3 separate regions of the Homo sapiens genome follow, and regions 2 and 3 are each linked to region 1. Evidence: promoter capture Hi-C in 16 types of primary human blood cells and fetal thymus (Javierre and others, 2016). All regions are on one chromosome and are shown on one strand. The core of a region is centred on a gene start or on the middle of the fragment in contact, and the rest is flanking DNA. Distances in the headings are between cores, read along the strand shown. Region 1 holds the start of MMS22L (MMS22 like, DNA repair protein). Region 2 overlaps FBXL4 (F-box and leucine rich repeat protein 4). Region 3 has its middle 28 kb from the start of POU3F2.

Evidence for each region. Contacts are between HindIII fragments. The CHiCAGO score rates a contact against its expected background, and 5 or more counts as called.
Region 2: a fragment that was not itself captured here is called in contact with the fragment with the promoter of MMS22L in region 1 in 4 of 17 cell types (M0 macrophages, naive CD8 T cells, total CD4 T cells and 1 more); the score reaches 8.5 in M0 macrophages.
Region 3: a fragment that was not itself captured here is called in contact with the fragment with the promoter of MMS22L in region 1 in 1 of 17 cell types (total B cells); the score reaches 5.9 in total B cells.

The regions. Positions count from the first base shown.
Region 1 is chr6:97,281,386-97,284,807 of GRCh38, forward strand. MMS22L (MMS22 like, DNA repair protein) reads right to left here and starts at 1,831. Exons shown (of 25, transcript NM_001350599.2): 1 at 1,711-1,831; 2 at 929-1,168. The coding sequence starts at 1,092. RefSeq lists enhancers at 1,408-1,667, 2,048-2,107. The HindIII fragment of the contact is 13,882 bases long and covers 1-3,422 here.
Region 2 is chr6:98,922,364-98,925,785 of GRCh38, forward strand. All of the region lies in intron 4 of FBXL4 (F-box and leucine rich repeat protein 4), which reads right to left. Among named protein-coding and RNA genes, the nearest start is that of FBXL4, 24 kb to the right of the region's middle. The HindIII fragment of the contact is 5,637 bases long and covers 1-3,422 here.
Region 3 is chr6:98,860,536-98,863,957 of GRCh38, forward strand. No RefSeq gene overlaps it. Among named protein-coding and RNA genes, the nearest start is that of POU3F2, 28 kb to the left of the region's middle. The HindIII fragment of the contact is 330 bases long and covers 1,345-1,674 here.

The DNA.
Region 1 (3,422 bases), core at 581-3,080:
TCATAAAAAGTATACTAAGTACCATAATACGACGGCTCTTTTCTTTACATTATTTGAATCCATATTATACATGACATGTATAAAAAGTCAGAAAATGCCTTGGTACTTTACACATTCAAGATTACAATAGCTAGACTGTATTAAAACGTCAATCTTCTATATTGATAAAATGTACGACTAAAGTGTAATGTAACTTAAGAGGAAAAATCAACAAGAATTCTAAAAAACATATTTCTGCCTGTCTTCACCAGTAGTCTTCAGTTGTAGAATTTCATCCTTTGAGGGGACATTTAATTTTAAAACTGCTAACAGTTATTCTGAGCCATGTCTGGAGAATAGTATCCAACTAATGAAGTTGAGTATTCTATTTAAGATTTCTAACAAGGTACAACTATAAGGTCAACAAAAATAGTTTCCTCACTGAAACTGCCTCAGCAGGTATTACCAAAATATTTCAAGAACAGTTTTACTGTAATATATATGTACCTGCCCAAGGCAAAATAAGTCTATACACTTCTATATGTGCAGGTAGGATTAGAAGGAACAGGGGCAATAAAAAATGTTTGTCTCTCTTAAATATTACTGGAAAGCTCTAGAATATTATCACACTCTTTAGAAGGAAATACTACTGCAAAAGGCTCAGATAGTTAGGAATTCATTTTAAGTAGAAGAAAAATTAGTGCCCAGCTCCCTACAGTAAGGGAACATCAGTTACCAAGGAAGTTTTCCCTAATACCCCAAATACTTTAGATATGCCCTTACCAAGAAGCCAGCAGAACTGATAATCATTTGTACCCTTATGATATACTAAGCTGATTTATAAAACACGACTTGGTGAACACCAAAGTTTAATGGGCTGAAATAACTAACATTCCTAAAAAACTGGTGAATAATCAGATGAGGGAAAATGTCTCTGAGTTTTACCTACCGCTTAAGGGCTCCGCTGCAGAGGTAGGATTCTCCAGAAAAATGTTTTCCTCCTCCTCTGTTGTCAACAGCACAAGAAAAGTAAGGAGGTTTGCACCATTCCGTCCCCAGCTCCAGCTCTAAGCTGTCAGTCAGGAACGTCGATGCAGCAGAACAGTTCTCCATTGTTTACTTCATGTTCTGAAACACTTGGGGTTCGTCGTATCATTAAGGGCTCCAAAGAGAAGGTGTGAAGAGATTCCTGTTGGGGGGGGGGGGGTGGGGCCGAGAGAGTGGGGATTACTTCAGAAAGTTCTCAAGACGTCCGCCAGCAGGAAGGAAAAACAAACGAACAAACCCAGAGGCCAAATTCCCAATTCCCCCTCGCCCTCCGTCCATCAAGGCTGTCAGAACTTAAGACAAAATGCACAACCAACTGGCTGTGGCAGGGACCTCGAAATCCGGCCACTAAGTCGGGCTCTGCAGCCCAGGACAAGGTGAAAAGCAAAGAAATGTCTGCAGGACATAGCGTCCCGGGCTTGCCTAGAACTGCGCCCTCCGCAACGTTTCTAAACCACTCTCCGCCCGTTTCCCAGCAGCAGGGTGGAGAACGCTCCCTCCCCGGCTCGGGGTGGAAATTAGGAAAGCAACCCCTAGGGCCAACCCCGACCCTCCAAGGAGGAGGCGAGACCCACCAGGCCCACGCCTGGCAGCACTCGGGCGGAGAAGGCGGGGTGCCGGTATCCCGCGTACCCGGCTGCAGCAAGGACCCGGGGCGTCGGTTACCCGCGGTGCCTGTCGTACCCGCTCACATTTCCAGCTCCCGAAACCTGCCTCCTGTGACCCAGACCACCAACAGGAATCTTTGGGGTCTAAACCGCAAACAGGCGAAATTCCCGCCACCGCGCGCCCGCGCTCCGGAAAGGCGGGGCCACGGCGCAGCCCTCCCCCGGCTACCAATCGCCTCGCGATATCTGCGCGGAAACAGTCGGAGCCCCACGAATTCTCGCGAGAGTCCGTCAGTCCGGGACGAGGTACTGAGAAACTTTTTTTTTTGTACCTTTAATTGGTGCGTTCGGCTGAAAGGCGGGGCCTGGTAAAAAAAAAAAAACAGAACTGCTGCTGAGGCGGAGGAGAGGACTTAAGGACTATGGGTTTATCCTCTGGCCGGACCAAAGAGAAGATATTTACTCCAGTGAGTGCGAAGTGAGTGCCTCGTTCACACCCACAGTCGCGCCGTCCCCTCTTCCCGCTCTGGGGCCAGCAACTCTTGTTAGAATGCAGATGCCTTTTGTCCATGGACTGTGAGGCAGGCAAGTGCAACAATTAATTTTCTCTGTAACAGATGGAACAAGTAGACAGAAAATTAGTATGGATATGGAAAACTTGGAAAGCACTAACCAACTTGACCTAATTGACGTTTATAGGTGACCAACCCAACAATAGCAGAATACACACTCCTGTCAAGTGCACATGAAACATTCACTAAGCGATACCATATTCCGAGCCATAAAACAAATGTCATCAACTTTAAAAAGATTTAAATCGTACAAAGTGTATAGTCTGATCATAATGGCATTAAACTAGAAATAAAGTAGATACTTGAAATACTCTAAATATTTGGAAATTAAGAATCATACTTCTAACTAACCTGTGAATCAGGAAAAATCACAGGAAAATTAGAAAATACGTTGAATTAAATTAAAATGAAAACACTAAAATTTGTAACAGTACCTGCTTACATTAAAAAGAAGAACTCAATTCAATAAACTTTTGTCTTAAGTAACTAGAAAAAACCCCCAGCATATTGAAACCAAAGCAAGCAAAATGAATGAAATGATAAATAGTAGAAATAAATGGGATGAAATAAATGGAAGGAAATACATGCAAAAGTTGTTTTTCTAAAAGAGCAATATAATTGATAACCCCCCTACCCAAACTGATAAAGAAAATAAACAAATTATCAGTATCAGGAATTAAAAAGGTTTCATCACTATGAAATTTAGTCATTAAAAGGACAAGGATATTAAAAGAACATTATGAACATTTTTATGCCAATAAGCATAGGTGAAATGGACAAATTCCTTAAAAGACGCAAACTGTCAAAAATCAACAAAAGAAGAAAATTTGAGTATCTCTGTATTTATCGTAGTACTCAGAATCTTTGGTTAAGCCTCCCTCCTCTCTCTCTGCACACACACACACACACACACACACACACACACACACACACCACTTCTTACAAGAAAACTTCAGGCCAGGGCAGGCACAGTGGCTTTGGGAGGCTGAAGTAGGTGGATCCCTTGAGACCAGGAGTTCCAGACCAGCCTGGGCAACATGGTGAAACCCTGTCCCTTGTCTCCACAAAAAAAATACAAATATTAGCCAGGCGTGGTGGTGCTCATCTGTAGTCCCAACTACTTAGGGAGGCTGAGGTGAGAGGATCACTTGAGCTGGAGAGTTCGAGGCTGCAGTGAACTGTGAGTGTGCCATTGTACTCCAGCCTGGACAACAGA
Region 2 (3,422 bases), core at 574-3,073, 1.6 Mb after region 1:
ATTTTAAATGTTCTGGGACTAAAAGAAGTCAATTTCCTGCAAATTCCTGAGCTACTCCAACACATTCTTGTTTGTTAACTCCTAAGGGAGGGATATAAAATTAAAATAATAGACACTGTAGCCCACTGGGTTCCCAAACAGTAGTACATGACGGAGTTTTCCATCACTAAATGTGAGAATGCACATTTAGTATGCACCTATCACACATATATGTTCTTATAACATTGAAAGAAATCTTTATTCAAGATTCTGATCATGCTGATTTCTTGGTATAAACTGAGTTGCTTGAGTAATCATTTCACAAATTTGTCATGATCTTGTCCTTTCGACTTTGTGGGCCAAAAAACATGATTTTGTCATTTAACTCAGAATTGACCAAGCTCTTCACTGGTTAATTTTTTTTGAACAGATGCATAAACTTTTATGAAATAATGGTGATGACAGGTAACATTGGCATTTTGTTTGTCTTTTTACTGTATGTTAATTTAGCAAAGTAAATAATCTGACAAGTCTATGAGTTCCCTAATTTTTATGATGATTATTATGTTACTAGTTTATTGTGACTGACTCCTCCCACCTGAACTCCATTCACATGCACATCCCCCATCTCATCAGTTCTATGTGCCACCCTGCAGATGGGCTTGCTTTGCTCCTAAGGGTTTACACTTACAACCTTCTTCACAGAACTACCTTGGGCTTCATCTAGGGAGTGACATGTGCCTAGAAGATTGACAGTCCCCCTTTCCCACCCTTCCAGCCCATGGTAAAAGTCTGGCTGGTGCAGGAGTATAAGGGCCCAGCTCTCTAGCAACTTTGCCTCCCAGCAGACTGGGACTTCACATGATATTGCATCCTTGCTTGATTTTTCCCATCATGCTTTCCCTACTCCTTTACTAGCTTCTCCTAGAGTATCTTCATAAAAAAATTTCCACAAAAATTTCCATAAAAATTGCACAGGAATAGTCACCTCAAGATATTCTTCTGGGAAGCTGGATCCAAAAAAATCTATAAAATCCCAAAGTCTAGAAACCCCTAGTTTAGATCTTAAGAATGTTACTCCCATGTCTCCAGTTGCCAACAGCTTATTCTCTGCATTCTTGGACTTTTCTCACTTCTTCAAACACCATGATCTTAGCTCATGATCTCACGTTCAAATGTGCTGTTGTCTCTCCTCCTTTCCTATCCACACTGGAGCCTCACTCAACCCTCAGGTCCCAGGTAAGTCACTTCCCCAGGGAAGCCTTCTCTGAGCCCACAGATTAGGTTCTCCCCTCTGCCAATACATGTTCCTCATGGTCCTCTTCTAGGCTGGCCTGTAAGCTCAAAAAAGAGCCATCTCTGTCTGACTCTCTACTTGGTTCCTAGCAGTGAACTGGCAGAGAGGGTGTTCAATAAATGTTTCTGATTGTATAAAAAATTCACCCAAATGTTAACAGTTACTGAATCTGGGCAGAAGAATTACAGATTTTTTTCATATATATTTTCCTTTTTTTTTGGTATTTTCTAGATTATTTTTAAACAATGAAACATCTATTGATTTCATAATCAGTAAAATTTAAAAAGGCTTTTTCTTATATCTTAATAATATATTGGTCACCTTTTTTTCTCTTAAAATGTAATGGTATTTTCAGTAGACTAAAGCTGAAAATCAGTAAAGAAAATTAGAGATACAGGTATAAATAAAGTTTTAACTTTAATCACAACCATATACCAGTAACTCTCAGTAACCCAAGAGCATGATTTGTACTTAAAATTAGTTATGCAGCTGTTAAGTTTTAGACTGGAGAAAACACATTACATGTTCCATTGATCTCCTCCCTAAATCTTTTCAGATTTTTGGAAAAAAGTAGGTAACTTTGTAAGAAGAATGTCAGAGTCCTAATAAAACAATTCTCATATAAGAAAAGATCCTGCCATGCACAGTGGCTCCCATCTGTAATTCCAGCACTTTGGGAGGCCGAGGCAGGCGGATCACCTGAGGTCAAGAGTTCGAGACCAGCCTGCCCAACCTGGTGAAACCCCATCTCTATTAAAAATACAAAAATTAGCCAGGCATGGTGGCACGCACCTGTAATCCCAGCCGCTCAGGTGGCTGAGGCAGGAGAATCTCATTAACCCGAGAGGCAGAGGTTGCAGTGAGCCAAGATCGTGCCACTACACTCCAGCCTGGGCGACAGAGTGAGACCCTGTCTCAAAACAAAACAAAAGATCCTACTCCATTTTTTCCTCTTAGGGAGAAAACAAAAATCTGATTTTAATTAAGGTATGCTGGCTTTCTGAGTTTAAAAAACGACTAATAACATTATTTGCAATGAATTATTAGGTAGTTCTGGAAAAAAAAGTAAAGATTATACCAGCAATCTCCAAGTTGAGCTGTACTCTGTATGTTTTCTGGCAGGCCCTGGAAGTATTCCCTTAGAGATGAGGGGACAGAGATATCAGAGGAGCTGCATGTTACGGAGGTAGCAGCTGACCTCTGCCCGCCTCCTCCTGCACTGGCAGCTGGCCATCCCTACAGTTGAACAGGTGCCCTGATCTGCTCTCAGGCTAGAATGAGAGCGGGAATTTTTATTTATTTTGTTCACTGCTCGCTGACACATCTCTAATACCTAGAACAACACCTAGCACATTAGGTAGGCACTAAAATATTTAATGAACGAGTGATTTAATAAAGTGATATGAAGTCCTAGAAACTGCTAAGATCCATGAGTAATAGAAAAAATGAGCAAATAATATGATCAGATAGTTAAAGGAAAAAGAAATATAAATGGCTTTTAAACATATGAAAAGATTTCAACCTCAGAGATAATAAAAGAATTTTAACAGTTAACATGAGATAACATTTTTCACCTATTAAATTGCAAAAATATTGAAATTTATAAACATACTCTGTAGGCGAGGCTTTGGCAAAACACCCATGTACATGCCCTGCTAGTGGGAATATAAATAGTACAGACTCTTTGGAGAGAAATTTGGCATTACATATGAAAATTACAACTGTTAAAAATTAAAATTAAATGTAACTAAGAATAAATTGTTAAAATGCAAAAAAAAAATGTTAAACATTACAAAATTATCAAATTATCCTTGGTTGAGTAGCCTTCTTCTAGGAAATTTATCCCACAGATATACTTGCACACATGCAAAGTGACTTATGATAAGGTCATTCCCTGCATTAATGTTTATAAGAGCAAAAGACTAGAAACAACTAAGTGCCCATCAATGGGGGACTAGTTAATAAGTTGGGGTTCATACACACTATGCATTACTTGCAAATGCAGGAAAGAATGAGGAAGCTCTCTTTGTACTTACAAGAAAAGATCCAACATATACTACTGTGTGAAACAAGGTACAGAACAGTGTGATAAATATGCTTACTTTTGTGTATAAAAATATAAAATTATATTTGTATTTGCTTGTGT
Region 3 (3,422 bases), core at 260-2,759, 1.6 Mb after region 1:
TTGAATTCATAGTTGGAGTTTCGTATTTCAAATAAGTAATTAAAACCCGTTGAAATTAAATATCAACTTTCAATTGCCATAATTCAAAATAAATTATCTCATATATTTGAAAAACAGACAAGAAAAAGATGGAAAGAATAGAGTTTGCAAAAGGGATAATTCTGAAAGTAATAAATTAAAATGACTTTCAAAATAGATGGGAAATTAACAGAAAATAAAACTGCCTTTAAAAACATTGCCTACTTTATAAAATTTGGATTTTAATAGCCTTGCCTTATACTGGAGACAGGCCAAGCTGTGGATAATCACCAGTATTTGTCAAACAATTATTTATTGAGTACCTACTATGTGCCAGACACTATTCTAAGTCCTGGCAATATAGCAGTGCCAAGACAAAAGTCCTTGTGCTTGAGGAGCTTAAAATTATAGAGGAGTGGACACAAACGAAAACATGTCAAATAGTTATAAGTGCTATAAATAAAAATATAGCAAGTTACAAGGGCTAGTGATTGATGAGGAGAGGGGAATATGCTGTTTTATTTTGGGTGGTCAATAAAGGCCTCTGTGCATAGGCAATATTTGAGCAGACACCTGAAAAAAGTGAGACCTGGAGTGGTGAAGATATATGGGGAAGAGCACTTTAAGCGGAGCATTTCAGCAAGGAGCATAGTACAGAGAGCTGGGGGTGGGGATAGGGGTAGGGGAAGGAGCTGTGGACATAAGTTTTACAGGTAGCAAAGATAAAGGGCTTTGGTTTTTATTCGGAAGGGTTTTAGGCACAGAAATGACATAATCTGACTATGTTTTAAAAGGAGCACTAGATTGTAAGGAAACAAGGAAGAAGCAAAGAGATTGGATGTAATAACTCAACAGTAGTTCTCATTTCATAGTATTTCATTCTGAGATTGACCTACCCTGTATGTTTCTGGGGAATGCTAATACTAATCAAAGCACTTTCATTTCAAACATTAAGGTATTTTGGTTTCTACATTTCTAAAATTTATATACAAACATAATACCATCACTTATAGTGATAATTTATAGCACTGGACTAGTGTATAGTCCAATACACTAAATGTAGTGACAAAAATTAATTCATAAAGATAAAATACAAACACCAATGAGACACATGGTATTAACAACTAATTTTAATTATACTAAGTATGTAGTATCCCAGCATGTGAAAGTTTTTTTTTCCCCACTATTACCAAAATAATTTATATGGTTTGTACTGCTTAGGTCACTTTGGAAACCTGGGGTACTTGTTAAAAATGTAGTTTTCTGGGTTCTTTGTAGTATCAGAATCTCCAGGCGTTTGTGGACTGGAAATTTACATTTTAAACAAGCTTCCACATGGTTCTTACACATACATGTTTGTATCAGTGACTCTCACTGTAAAGGAAGAGTATTTTAGTGACTTGACTATTTTAAAGCTAGGTTCCACTATTTGAATACTAAGTAAAAACAAGGAAGATCATATCTTATTACTTTATCTCAAATCCATTTTTGAAGAGGGATTTGAATAAAAGAAAATTAAAGTTTTATTGCTCTGCCATAATTCTAAGAAAAACTGAGCTAAACTATAATAAAAATTGCAGAAGGATATGCTTTGTTAATTAGGTGACAATAAAAAAGCATTAGAATGAGACCTTTACACTGAGAATGACCTCAGAAAGCTTTTGGAACAATTTTTATTTTTTTATTATTATTATACTTTTAAGTTTTAGGGTACATGTGTACAACGTGCAGGTTTGTTACATATGTATACATGTGCCATGTTGGTGTGCTGCACTCATTAACTTGTCATTTAACATTAGGTATATCTCCTAATGCTATCCCTCCCCCCTCCCCCCACCCCACAACAGGCCCCAAAGTGTGATGTTCCCCTTCCTGTGTCCATGTGTTCTCATTGTTCAATTCCCACCTATGAGTGAGAACATGCGGTGTTTGGTTTTTTGTCCTTGTGATAGTTTGCTGAGAATGATGGTTTCCAGCTTCATCCATATCCCTACAAAGGACATGAACTCATCATTTTTTATGGCTGCATAGTATTCCATGGTGTATATGTGCCACATTTTCTTAATCCAGTCTATCACTGCTGGACATTTGGGTTGGTTCCAAGTCTTTGCTATTGTGAATAGTGCCGCAATAAGCATACGTGTGCATGTGTCTTTGTAGCAGCATGATTTATAATCCTTTGGGTATATACCCAGTAATGGGATGGCTGGGTCAAATGGTATTTCTAGTTCTAGATCCCTGAGGAATCACCACACTGACTTCCACAATGGCTGAACTAGTTTACAGTCTCGCCAACAGTGTAAAAGTGTGGAACAACTTTCTTAGTTTACAGATGAGGAAGTTGAGATGCAAAGTTAAATAGTCAAAAGGTAGCACAGTTGATTATGGATTCCTCATGACTCTTGTTTCAGAAATATTTCTATTAGTTTATCCTATTTTTTATTTCCCATGGAATTAGGTGATTATTTGGGAAAATCTTACAGTGAGGATCTTTCTAAAAATTCTGAACCTAAACCAGTGTATTCAATATTATACTTATTTTTTTAAAATTAAGAGGTTATTTTGTTTTATATTAAGATATTTTGGCTACTTACAGAAAGCTGAAATATTTGTAGTACATTGTAGTACCTTGGGTATTATTATTCAGAATTATTTGTTCCCAAAACCTTTGGATGTGACTTACAATAGTTCCCTATAGGAAGAGTAGCTTTGCTGACCAATGACTGGGTTTAGCCACATGACTTGCTTGGTCAACACAATGCAAACAGACTTGATGAGCTTTTCAATGCATTTCCCAGTGCTGCCAGTTCTCTTGCTTTAGTGCCCTCTGCCACTACAAGGGCATAGCCCAGGTAGGACCTTCTCTTTCAGCCCAGGGCCTGAATAGAGTAAACCTGAACCTGAATCACATCCTGAAGTGCAGCCAGAGCAATTAACCCACAGTAGCCAACAAGCCACACAATGAAAAATATATGTTGTTGAAAGCTACTGAAACAGTTGAGGTAGTTTGTTACCCATTGTACTCTAATAAAAGCTAATACATATATGCTCCCAAATCTGGATTAAAAGTCTGGTACCTGAAACAGAAAGATTATCAAAAGTAAAAATTCTGAGGTTTTTCTGACCAAGAATCTTTGTTATAAAAATGGGTAAATATCTTATTAATGTGCCTGCAAATACATTAGTGATAGAATGTTTTTATACAGTTTAGAACTTGGTATATGATAGGTACATATTTGAATTATGGTCATTTTTGTTTGGAAAATAGGTGTAATGAATCTACATGACAATTTCATAATGTAAAATTGCACCAACATGCACAAAGGAAATGCCACAATTTATCTGGGGATATAATTTTCAAAGCCATGGAAATACAGGGAAACTCTTTAAAAACTTATAATCCC